3 separate regions of the Homo sapiens genome follow, and regions 2 and 3 are each linked to region 1. The links are contacts of gene promoters, found by promoter capture Hi-C in human tissues and cell types (Jung and others, 2019). All regions are on one chromosome and are shown on one strand. Each heading gives the region's core, a stretch centred on a gene start or on the middle of the fragment in contact. The rest is flanking DNA. Distances are from core to core; before and after follow the strand shown.

Region 1 (3,918 bases), core at 423-2,922:
AAACTATCAAAAAAACAAAGAAACAAAAATCAGTAAGAGGAGATGACTGTTTTAGACCAGGTGGCCAAAGACAGCTTCTCTGCAGTGACAGCTGAGCAGAGATAGAGGCACCGGGGAGGTGGTGGAAAGAGCAGGCTGTGCGAAGAATGCTCCGAACAGAGGGAACAGCACGTGCAAAGGCCCTGCAGTGGGACCTCTAGGGAAAGATGGGGAGATCAGTGTGGCTGGAGCAGAGTGGGTGAGGGAGAGAGTCGGGGGCATAGGGTCAGGCAGGTAAAGGTGAGAAGGGGCGGATCATGCTGGTTCTCGAAGGGCCTTGTCAGGACCCTGGCTGATAAGGATGGAAGCCAGGAGACCAGGAGGAGCAACAGCTTCTCCAGAGCTCTGCTGGGACTATGGAATGAAACGTGCCTAAGCTCACCCGGCACTGAATGGGTGGATACAGGACTAGAACAAGACCTCCTGGGTCTTACCTCCAGGTTCAGCCCATGGTTTCATAAAACTTAGTGTGCCAAGCACTCAACAGTTTGTGATTCCTTTTAGTGTCAAGCTCTCATCACTTCCTCACAACAGCCCCAGAGGTAAGCACAACTCTGCCCTCCCTGTTTCCAGATAATGAGGTGAGCTCAGAGAGGTTGAGCTACCTGCCCAACGCTTCCCAGGGTGGGAATGGGGATGGTGGGGGCAGGGGCGTGGAGTGAGGCTGGATTGACCCCCAGTTCTCATCAGCACCCTGGGGTGGTACATTGCAGAGCCGCGGGCACAGGGGGCTGGCACCCCAAGCACCAGGTAGCGATGACAATGGCCACCACATCCGGAGGCCCTAACGTGCACCAGGTAGAGGGTGCATACTTCACGGGCACTATCTGTCCCCAAAGCAGGTGAGGATGAGGGGACTCCCTGAGACACCCTTGTACCCCCTGCCCAGTAGTTACTGAAGATACTATAGGGTGCGATATAATCCAGACCAGCCCTCCCAGCCCAGACCACAGAATGGAAAACTCCAGGTCCCCAGCACGCCTGGGGTGGGGGATGGGGTGAGGAGGAGCCTTGGGGGGTTTCCTCTGTCTAGGTGGAATGTGGAATGTGGTGGGAAAGCTCCTCCTGACCCCCTTACACTCCTCCTCCATGTTCGTCCCCTCCCACCACATTTTCTCCTCCCACTGTGCCCCCTCCTCCCCATACCTCCTTGGCTGTTTCCCCATCGTCCCGCCGTCTTCCCACATTCCCTCCTCTTCCCTTCCCCAAAAGTCCTCTCCCATCTTCCCCATCCCTCTTCCCTCCCCGCATATAATCTCTTCCTTCCTGTAAATCCTCTCCCTCTCCCCTCCCTTCCATCACCCCCCAGTCCACCACATCCCCCTCAGTCCCCCATCTATCTCCTTTCCCCTTGATCACTCCCCAGCCCACCACATCCCTTCCGCCCCCTCCCCCTCCCCCTCCTTCTCCCCTCCCCTCCCTCCCACATTTTCCATCAGGCCTGAGCTGGGGGGAGCAGGGTTTCTAACAGAGCGCCCCGGTCCGACCCCTGCGGACCTCGGAGGGCCCCATCCCCCACCCCCCCCACCCCGCCCCAAAGCGGGCTGGGGTGGGCGGAGTGGGAGGGGCGCGCCGGGTGGGGGCGGGGAACTTTACCTGGGAGTGGGCCAGGCCGCCAGCCCCGCCAGCCCCGCCAGCCCCGCCAGCCCCGCGATGGCTTGGGCCGCGCTCCTCGGCCTCCTGGCCGCACTGTTGCTGCTGCTGCTACTGAGCCGCCGCCGCACGCGGTGAGTGTCCTGCTCCGCTCGGCCCCGCCAGACAAAGGGGGCGGCTCCCGCCCGGGCTGCAGCCCAAGGGTCTCGGAGCCCGCGGCCGGCCCGGCCCGAGTCCCGCTCCAGTATCCCGGGCAAGGCGAGACCCTCGGAGGTGGGAGTCCCGGGGCCCCGCACGTGGGTGAGGGGGCCAGGCCGTGCTCCCCCTGCCAAGAAGGTGCAAGGTGGGAAGGTGCGGGGTCCGGTAGGTCCCCCGGGGCGAATCGCCCACCGCGACAAGTCCGAGTCTGGCCCTTAGCGCGACGGCAGGGACCTAGGAGGGGGTTTCAGGTGAGGACCGAGGGTTTGTGGGTGGGGAGCCGTGCGGGGACAGCCTCTGCGTGGCCCGGGTGGAAGAAGCGCTCTCCACTCTCCAGCCTCTGCCTGCACCTGGCACCCACCTACGCGCTGTCAAACCCTGCCTTGCTTTCGGCAGTCCTATAGGGATAGCCTCGCTCCTCAACCCATTACACAGATGGGAGTGTTGAGCCAGCGGAGTGTAGAGCCCCTGGGGGATGTCTTGATCATGCCCTGGAACCACCCACCCCGGGATTCCCCGTCTGGAAGACGGGGGTCGGTGGGCTTAGTAATTTCATTTGCCAGGGAGAAACTGAGGCCTATGAAGTCTCTACCTTCCCCTGAGGTCCCACAGCCTGGACAGAACGGAGCCAGGGTCAGATGTCACAGCCTCCTGGTCCCAAAGGTTTTCCAGCTCCATTGAGCATCTGTGATTTAGGAGAAAAAGTAAAGACAGCCTCAAATCAAGGAGATAGCTGTAGCTCTCCTTTTCATAAAATATTTTTTAAGTTAACTTGAATTGCATAAGGAATAGCTGAATACATTCGACTTAACACAAATATTTATCCTGTTATAGGTAAGACCGAAGCCCCTTAACCCTCCCCCAGCCCCTGAAGTCTAGTCCTCTCTCCCTCTCTGGGCCTCTCCTGTTGCTGAGTCTGGGTAGAACCTTCCATATTTAAAAAAATATACTTTTTATTTGAGACTAGTTTGGGATTTACAGAAAGTTGCAAAGATAGTACAAAAAGTTCCTGTATTTCTCTCACCCCGTTTTCCCTATTGTTAACATCTTACATTGTTATGGGACATTTGTCGCCACTAAAAACCAACACTGGTCCGTTACTCTTAACTAAACTTCAAACTTCACGGGATTTTATCCAGTTTCCCATTACTGTCCTCTTTTGTTCCAGGATCCGGCCCCAAGTTACCACATTGCCTTTAGTTTTCATACCTCCTCAGTCTCCCAGATGTTTTAAAAATTACTCTTACATAAAAATTACTCTTACATACATAGACATGAGCTTGTAGCTAATACAGAGCCACGTAAGAGAGAGTTAGTTTACATTCGTGTCTGAAAATTCCGGAAACCTTGGGAACTTTTTGATTTTTAAACAATATGGTAGTTGAATTTTCAAACAATAAGCTCACTGTATTTTTCTTCAACCTCCAGACATCTTTTCAGCTGAAATTTACAACTGTGTAGTCAATCATTTGCCTTAAAACAAGAAAAGAAAAAGACAGTGAATAAATGTCTCAGGGAAGAAATGAATTATTTTTCCTGTCAGGCTTTCTCAATACACTGTATAGAAATGTTTTCAGACATTATGTTGCTTGCTCTTTTCACTCCAGATTTTAGTTTTGACATCTGTTCTTTTTGCTACAAGCAGATCTTTTTGCTACAAGGAGATCGAATCCATTCTTTTGATCCTCTCTGGAGTCTTCCATCATGTGAATACGTTATGGGCTCTTTTTTTGTTTGTTTGTTTGTTTGAGATGGATCTTCCCTCTTGTTGCCCAGGCTGGAGTGCAATGGCACGATCTCGGCTCACCGCAACCTCTGCCTCCTGGGTTCAAGTGATTCTCCTGCCTCAGCCTCCCCAGTAGCTGGGATTACAGGCATGTGCCACCATGCCCAGCTAATTTTTGTATTTTTAGTAGAGACAGGATTTCTCCATGTTGGCCAGGCTGGTCTCGAACTCCTGACCTCAGGTGATCTGCCTGCCTCGGCCTCCCAAGGTGCTGAGATTACAGGCGTGAGTCACCGCGCCCTGCTGAGCCTTTGATTTTTATACCTGTGGGCACCTTGGAAGGGTCAACAGTGGGTAGTGGG
Region 2 (3,941 bases), core at 441-2,940, 160 kb after region 1:
AAAATACCAAACATGAATAAGACGGAGGAGAATGTTGGGAGCGTGAAGTCCTCAGCGGGCCTGCAGCAGTCAGACCTAATTACTCAGGCAGGCTCACCCCTACCAGATAGGGTCAGCGCAGGAAAGGGGACTGCAAAGCGTGCCCGGGGCTGCAGCTCAGGTGGCCAATGGCCCTAGAAGCCCCCTCCACCCTCTAAGCTCAAAAGACTGTCTTTCCTGCCTGACCAGCCCAGCCTTTCCCACCTAGGCTCATATGAAGGCAGAGATTCTGGTTTTAAGAGATAAGGTCACTGGTTCTGAAATGTGGTGTATCTGTGGCCTGTGTGGCTTCCACGAGACAGTGTACTGTGGTTAATAACAGGGGCTCTGAGCCCAGCTCTGCCTGAGTTCAAATCTCACAGTTATCTCTTGCAACAGAGACCAAATGGTGCACAAAGACTAAAATATCTACTATTTCTGCTGTGGAACCTTGCCCGAGGATTCCAGTCTCTCTGAGACTCCGTTTCTTCATCTGAACATAGGGCTGCCTATCTCATCAGGGTCCTATGAGCTAAGACATGTAAAGCCTCTGGAGCGGGGGCCAGCAATCCAGGGCCTGTGGGCCACATCTAGCCCACCCCCTGTTTTGGTACAGCCCTCAAGCTAAGAACAGTTTTTACATTTTCAAGTGGCTGAAAAACATCCAAAGAAAAATATTGTTTCGTGACATGTGAAAACCATATAAAATTTAAATTTTAGGACCATCAGGGTTTTTGGAACAGAGCCATAACTCACAAACTCATTTCTGTTTATCTGTGGCCGCGTCTGTGCTGCCCTGCAGAGTTTAAGGGTTGTGACAGAGATCATGCGGCCCCCAAAGCCTAAAATATTTACTCTCTGACCCTTTTACAGACAAAGTTTGCTGAGCCCTGGTTTAGAGAGCATTGCCTTATTCAGGCCCTTAGGGAAGCAAGTGTGGAGTGGGCCCCAGGCTGCATCTATTAAGCACCAACTGTGGGCAACCTCTTGGGTTAGGCACATTATATTTGTCATCCCTTTCACAATACTCTGAGGTCAGTGTGACTGTCCCCACCTTATAAATGAAGAAACTGAGACTCAGCCAGGCACGGTGGCTCACGCCTATAATCCCAGCACTTTGGCAGGCCAAGGCAGGTGGATCACCTGAGGTCAGGAGTTCCAGACCAGCCTGGCGAACATAGTGAAACCCCATCTCTACTAAAAACACAAAAATTAGCCAGGCATGGTGGCAGGCACTTGTAATCCCAGCTATTCAGGAGGCTGAGGCAGGAGAATGGTGTGAACCCAGGAGGTGGAGGTTGCAGTGAGCCAAGCTCACACCACTGCACTCCAGCTTGGGTGACAGAACAAGACTCTGTCTCCAAAAAAAAAAAAAGAAAGAAACTGAGGCTCTAAGAGGTGGTGGAAGCTCCTCACCCTGGCCTTCAAAGCTCTGCCTGATTAGCCCACAGTCGCCCAGCTGGGTAAGTGTTAAAGCTGAGATGTGAACCCAGGGCCTTCTGATTCCACTGAGCCCCCTGCTTCTCCCCCTCACACATACTGCGTGCCCTGTTGCCTGAAGTAGCTCTGGAAACATGCCAGCAGCTATGTCTCTCCAATGCCGGACAGAGGAATCACGTGGAAGTGTTTGTAAAGATGTGAACTCCTGGGTCCTAGCACAGATCACCTGAATCATTATCTCTGTGGAAGACCCTGGGATCTTCATTGACAGCAAACTACCCCAGTGGATTTCAACACCAGGAGAGTGGTTGGGAGGAGGAGGGCCCCATAGGCTCTAGCTGCCAGGGAAGGTTTCCTGAGGAAGAGTGGGCAAATCAGGGAGAGGAGAGGCCACCCCAGGCAGGGGATCCTGTCTGAGCAAAGGTAGGGAGGCAGGAATGAGGCTGCTGTGTGCAGCGAGGTGTCGCTTGGCCCCTCCTGATGCGGGGACAGGCTGCATACAAGCCAGCCAGGTTTCGGGGGTTGAGTGACGGTCAGGTTCTCCCATGAGCCCTGGTGCTTCCAAGAAGTAAGGCAGCTCATCCACCCAGGGCCCAGAGCCTCCTCTTCCTCTAGGTCCTTAAAATAAATTGCAAGTTCCTCACCCCGGCCTTCAAAGCTCTGCCCGATCTGCCACCCGCCTGCCTCTCCATTATCATCTCTGGCCACTCTTTCCTTTGCTTCTTCCACACCGGCCACACTGGCCTCCTTTCTGGTGCCCAAACACGACCGTTCCTATCTCAGGGCCTTTGCACACGCTGTATCCTCTTCCCCACAGTGCTTGGCCTCAGACCTCTGCTTAGCAGGCATCCTCAGAGGGGCTTTCTTAACCCTCTGCCTCCCTCCCATTGGCACTCTCTCCATCGCCCACTAACTCCCTCCCTGCCATTTCATCTGTTTGTTGGCTCCTCTGCTGTCTTGGGGACAGTGACTCCCAGAGCCCAGCACAGTGCCTGGCACACAGAAAGCACTCAGGACATGCAACCGAATGGACATGCAACGTGGAGTGTGTCCAAGCCAGAGAAGGGCTGAATGGCGGCTCAGGACTCCCCTCTTGGTTACGTACTCAGCACCCAGGGGACTGCTGGTTAAAGGCTTGGGGTGATAACTGTGGCATGAGAGTGGACAGAGGGGCACTGGGGAGAATTCTCCAAGGATAAAGCAAGGCAGTCAGAGAGGCGCTTGCCTTCGTCCACCCTCCAGAGAGGAGAGCCCACTGTCATCTTCTGGAATCCACCAGAGCATCCCCTGCCTCCACAGGCCCAGGAGCTAGTGGCCACCCCAGGTCCCCTCATTGAACAAGCCCTGGGCCAGCCCTCCACATCCGCGTTCCCATTAAATATTCACAGTTCCACGATTAAGGAAGTCTCACTGTCTCCCACTGCAGATGGGGAAAGCAAGGCTTGGAGCGGTGAAGGAATTTGTCCTGGGTCTAGCATGAAGCTCCAATGCTGGAACCCAGTGCGGAGCCTGTTTTTCCCACCATTGTGTTGTGGCTGCCACCTCAGTTCCCACCATTCATACCATTCTCCCATCCTCCCTCGTGTGACATTGTCAGAGAGTCCTTCTGAGACCGCAGCACATCACCCTGGGAGACGGTCTCAAAGACACCTTCTGTTTCCATTTCCAATGTAACTTTGTGGCTCAGTTCAAACCAGGAAGGCAATGAATGTTGAGGAGAGGAGGCATAGAAAACCCAGACCCAAAGGAAGTCAATTTTCAGAAACAAAACTGCAGGGAGGCCGGGCGTGGTGGCTCACGCCTGTAATCCCAGCACTTTGGGAGGCCAAGGCGGGCGGATCATGAGGTCAGCAGATCGAGACCATCTGGCTAACATGGTGAAACCCCGTCTCTACTAAAAAATACAAAAAATTAGCCAGGCGTGGTGGCGGGCGCCTGTAGTCCCAGCTACTCCAGAGGCTGAGGCAGGAGAATGGCGTGAACCCAGGAGGCGGAGCTTGCAGTGAGCCGAGATCGCGCCACTGCCCTCCAGCCTGGGCGACAGAGCGAGACTCCGTCTCAAAAAAAAATAAAAAAAAAAATTTAAAAAATTGCAGTAAATGGGCTGGGGGCGGGGGGGGTCAAGGTATCTGGGCTCAAATCCCAGCCCCAACACTCCCTTTGCTGTGCGACTTTGATCAAGCTAGTGACACTCTCTGTGCATCTGTCTGCAATTGTGGAAAACAGGAGTCTTAACAGACAGGCGCCTATGTCCAGGGTGCTATCAGGTTTGACCCAGTATAGTCAAAATGTGAGCTGGAGAGGCAGGCCCTGCCCTGGAAAGCGGAGGCTAGAGGGAGCCAGGGCCTAGTGGGGAGAAAGCATGGTGACGGTGCAGTCAGAGGACAGCTCCAGACAGCGGCAGGAAGGCTGGAGATCAGTCACCAAGTACAAAGACCACGGGGTCCTGGGGCCTTCCCAGGAGCCAGAGTGGCCCAGAAGGA
Region 3 (3,990 bases), core at 861-3,360, 200 kb after region 1:
CCACACCCCTTTAGGGATCTGAAGGGACTGAGTTTTCTCATCCCCAGAGATCTTGGAACCAAAAATCTCATGCAAGCAAACTCATCACTGGCATTTCTGAGATCCAGAACACATGTGAGTCCCTCCTGGCTGGGCTGCTCCCACATGTCCAGCACCCTGTCGGCCTGTAACATCAATCAGAGCTGAAGGTCAGAGGTTTTTCAGGTTCTCGTGAACCTCACAAGAACATGCTGGGCCTCCGATCTCACCAACTTGTTTATCAGTTCCTTGTTTCGATCTGTTTATTTATTTATTTTTTTGTTATTATTATTTTGAGACAAAGTCTTGCTCTGTTGCCCAGGCTGCAGTGCAATGGCGCAATCTCGGCTCACTGCAACCTCCTCCACCCAGGTTCAAGTGATTCTCATGTCTCAGCCTCCTGAGTAACTGGGATTACAAGAGCGCACCATCACGCCCAGCTAATTTTTGTATTTTTAGTAGAGGCAGAGTTTCTCCATGTTGGCCAGGCTGGTCTTGAACTCCTGACCTCAGGTGATCTGCCTGCCTCGGCCTCCCAGTGCTAGGATTACAGGTGTGAGCCACCACTGCACCCAGTCCATTTCAATCCATTTCTAACAGCTTCACCAAAAAACAGTGGCCAGACACCCTTGCAGCCAAACCCTGAGAAGAGATGTCCCCGAATCTGCTAGCTCATCTCCCCTTCCCTTGCCAGCTGCCTGGCTCCATAGAGCAGGAGGTGTGTGGCAAGGACAGGGGCAGTTTTCCAGCTTCCACCTATCCACGCCTGGGGGAGTTTTTGGACTGTCCTGATAATTAATTCCAGAGGCAGTTTTCAGTCCTGGGTGGGCGGAGGACATCTCACTAGGCAGGATCTTCAGCAGAAAGTGATTCTCCATCCGTCAACTCATGCAGGAAGATGAAGAAAGCCCAGATAATCTCCAACTTGCATTCGTTTAGGTTTTGGTATACCACCCACCTCACTGTCAGCTGCAGGGCTTGGGGCTCTGCCTAGAATCAGAAATTTGAGCCAAACTGGGACCCTCAGATGGCAGTGAGCCATCCCATCAGATAACTCCCAAGAGGAAGCCAACTCAAATATGAATTTTATTATTCTGGACTATGACCCTGATCAGAGTTCTCCCACCCCGAAAACCTCTGATAGTCTGGTTTGAACCAGAGTCAAATAAAACAGACAAGATTTTTTTTTCCTCTGCACAAAAGCAAAAAAACAAAACAAAAAAAAGTCTGCCAGTAGTTTCCTGGGTTTGATGCCCAGATAAGCAAACACTGTTGCCTATGGCTGTTGCTGTTTTCATCAAGAAAGAGGTTATATAGTTTGCATTTCCATCCACTCTCCCTGATTTTATCTTAACCTAGAATTTCTCCTGAACTACCCCAAATGCCAACTTGAATTTGGGTAGGGCTCTGTTAATCGAGGGAACCCTCATCTTCACTTATAAACCTAATTCTCTGTTCCTCCCTCCAAAGATCCTGAAAAGATCTCCTAAAGGCTGGCCAGGATGGGGTGGAGTGGGGCAGTGCACCTGAAGAAAAAAACTTAGCTGCCAGCTGGCTGTATGCAAGTTCTCCGAAAATTTCTATTGTATGAAAGGGATGGGGTCAATTGCAGCTCAAATTAAGGAAGCCCTCCTAACAGGCTGGGTTGTCTGACCATGGAGCTCAATGCCATGGTGGACAGTGAGCTCCCTTATATCACAGGTGTTTAAAGAGAGGCTGGCTAGATGGTGTAAAAAATGGGCATTGCAGAGGGGCCCTAGCATTGCATGGAAACTGGGCTGAACAACCACAGAAATTCCTCTTTGTTTCTTGGAGTGTGTGTGTGTGTGTGTGTGTGTGTGTGTGTGTGTGTGTGTGTAGGTGGTTTCAACACTCTGGATATAAGCTCAAGCCACTGAGGCAAAGGCATGCAGCACAATTAGCAGGAATGCAACTTCTGGGCTTTGGAGCTCTCAGAGGGGGTGTCCAAGAGACAAGTCTGCTTCCTTCCGGCTCCGTCTTGGAACATTTTAATGACTGTCAGTCACCAATCCAACCCATCCCCAGTGGCCTACCAGGCACCACATTGGGATGAGACTCATGCTACCCTTCCCCAGGCCAGCCAAGGAGCAATCCACGCTGTCCCCCATCCCTGGCTGGCTGTCTTATGGTGCTTCAGCCCCTCCGCCCAGCTCCTGTGCCCTCATGAGCCTGGGGCTTTCTGTATAAAAGATGCAATGATATCTGTTCCCCACTAGCCATCCCCACAATGAACAACTTCCCAGGCAATAGCAAATGGCTCCATTCCAAAAGGGCTTGTTTTTTTGGTAAATCAAATAAGAGACCCCACTCAAGACCTTTGAAAGTCCCCGTCAATGAAAAAAATCCAGAAGGGTCAAAAGAGAAAGGCAGCTTTTAATCCAGTTTCACAGCAAAACCAGGCTCTTGGCTGCCTCCAAGCAGAATGCCACTCTCCTGCAGCTGTGGCCTCCATCCCAAATCATCCTGCATACTGCATTCTCTAAGGAAAGCATTTGACAAGAGAGGGTTTATGTATGGTGGATTGGGAGAAAGTGAGACTTCAACCTCAGGGTGAACCGAAGACTGGTTTGTCTTTGGTTGTTTTAGTATGAGGTTGGGCAGGATGATATGTTTGGATGGGTAGAATGAGCAGCCGCCTTCCTCTGAAACCAAAATAAAATAAAAACCAGTTTTCAAGATTCCTCCCAACTCCTCACTGGAGGCTCTGCCCTGCAGAATCACTCAAGTTGCAACAACACAAGGAGACAAAAATAGGATATTTCATGAAAATATAAGAAACTCCCAATTCCGTCCCATTAGGATGCCCTCAAGGGGCCATGCAGGGATCTTCCCATACTTCCTGCTTCCCTGATCTGAACCAAGATTGGAAAGAGGCAGGCAGCAGAGAAGATGCCCAAGAAACTCTGACATATCCACAGCTTGGCTCTGCCCCTTGGGCTTCACTGGGGTTTGGGCCTCCCTCTTGGTTGAGCTGAGTGTGCCTGAGTGGGTGGGGACAGGGAGGATTCTCCAGGTCTATCTTGATTTCATAGGTCCTTCTCAATCCAAGGTCAAAAACTGAGAATCTTATTTTCTGCACCAGGAACTCAGGGTTATCCCCAACCTATGCCGCTGGCACATGATGGTCATCCAACCTGTGTTTTTGTGAGTGAGTGAATGTGTGACTGGTTGGCCTCTGAGTGGATGACTGGATGCGTGAATGTGTGAGTGAATGGGGGAGTTAATGAATCCCTACCTAACTGTGAAGAGAAGAAAAATGAGGAGCCCCTCTCCCACTGAAACCCATAACTGCCCCATCAAGGTCATCTTTCTTTGACTCAAGATGACATCTCAATTTGATGCTTGTAGGCCCCAAGCTGATAAGGGCCACAGCCCTCTCAGAGCCACACTTCCTGGGGGCCCACAGAGCAGCTCTGCCCTCCTTCCTCTTCCCCTACCCTGCATTTCTCAGCCTCATGTTCTATTTTAGCTCACACACGACCCATGGGGGGGACCACCAAGTGGTTTTCCAATGGACTAAGCCAAGGGTTCGAAGTTGGGACTTCCTTTGGTCTGGGACTTCCTGGGGCAGAAACATAGGAGCCAACATCTGGAAACTGGATTGCATTCCCTGAGCCATGGGAGTCCAGCTGGATATTAAGGCCAGCCTGCCCTCCAGCTTTTAGAGCCGAAGATCTTTTTTTCTGAGCCCCAAAGCCGTCATGATAGTATGCCCCCAGATCCCATCAGCTAAGACCCTGTCTCTCCCAGGAACCCGTCGTGTGAGGTTGGGGCTTTTCTGCCAGTAAAGCCATTCTGATCACCTCACCCTTGACAGGGGCCAAGCCAATCACATTAGCCATAAATGACCAATGTCCTCAGCCACTCTTTTCTCGGGGGTGCATTCGTGGGTCCTATTCATCTCTCGTCAGTTAATGTCTCTAGTCCTTCCTGTAAAGGTGAAAATAAGCA

The links. Contacts are between HindIII fragments. The study calls those that stand out against the background at their distance.
Region 2: a contact is called between a fragment that was not itself captured here and the fragment with the promoter of PTGIS in region 1, in 2 of the 25 tissues and cell types used here (IMR-90 fibroblasts and liver).
Region 3: a fragment that was not itself captured here is called in contact with the fragment with the promoter of PTGIS in region 1 in 1 of the 25 tissues and cell types used here (lymphoblastoid cells).

Annotation. Positions count from the first base shown.
Region 1 is chr20:49,565,891-49,569,808 of GRCh38, reverse strand. It overlaps PTGIS (prostaglandin I2 synthase), which reads left to right and starts at 1,672. Exons shown (of 10, transcript NM_000961.4): 1 at 1,672-1,766. The coding sequence starts at 1,693. LOC101927486 (a long non-coding RNA gene) reads right to left here and starts at 1,765. Exons shown (of 2, transcript XR_244188.4): 1 at 1,636-1,765. RefSeq lists enhancers at 141-755, 756-1,372. The HindIII fragment of the contact is 24,721 bases long and covers 1-3,918 here.
Region 2 is chr20:49,407,810-49,411,750 of GRCh38, reverse strand. The region is part of intron 1 of KCNB1 (potassium voltage-gated channel subfamily B member 1); the gene reads left to right. All of the region lies in intron 2 of LOC105372649 (a long non-coding RNA gene), which reads right to left. Among named protein-coding and RNA genes, the nearest start is that of KCNB1, 73 kb to the left of the region's middle. The HindIII fragment of the contact is 8,489 bases long and covers 1-3,941 here.
Region 3 is chr20:49,364,094-49,368,083 of GRCh38, reverse strand. It overlaps KCNB1 (potassium voltage-gated channel subfamily B member 1), which reads left to right. Exons shown (of 2, transcript NM_004975.4): 2 at 1-3,990. The region is part of intron 2 of LOC105372649 (a long non-coding RNA gene); the gene reads right to left. Among named protein-coding and RNA genes, the nearest start is that of SNORD12, 85 kb to the right of the region's middle. The HindIII fragment of the contact is 6,282 bases long and covers 1-3,990 here.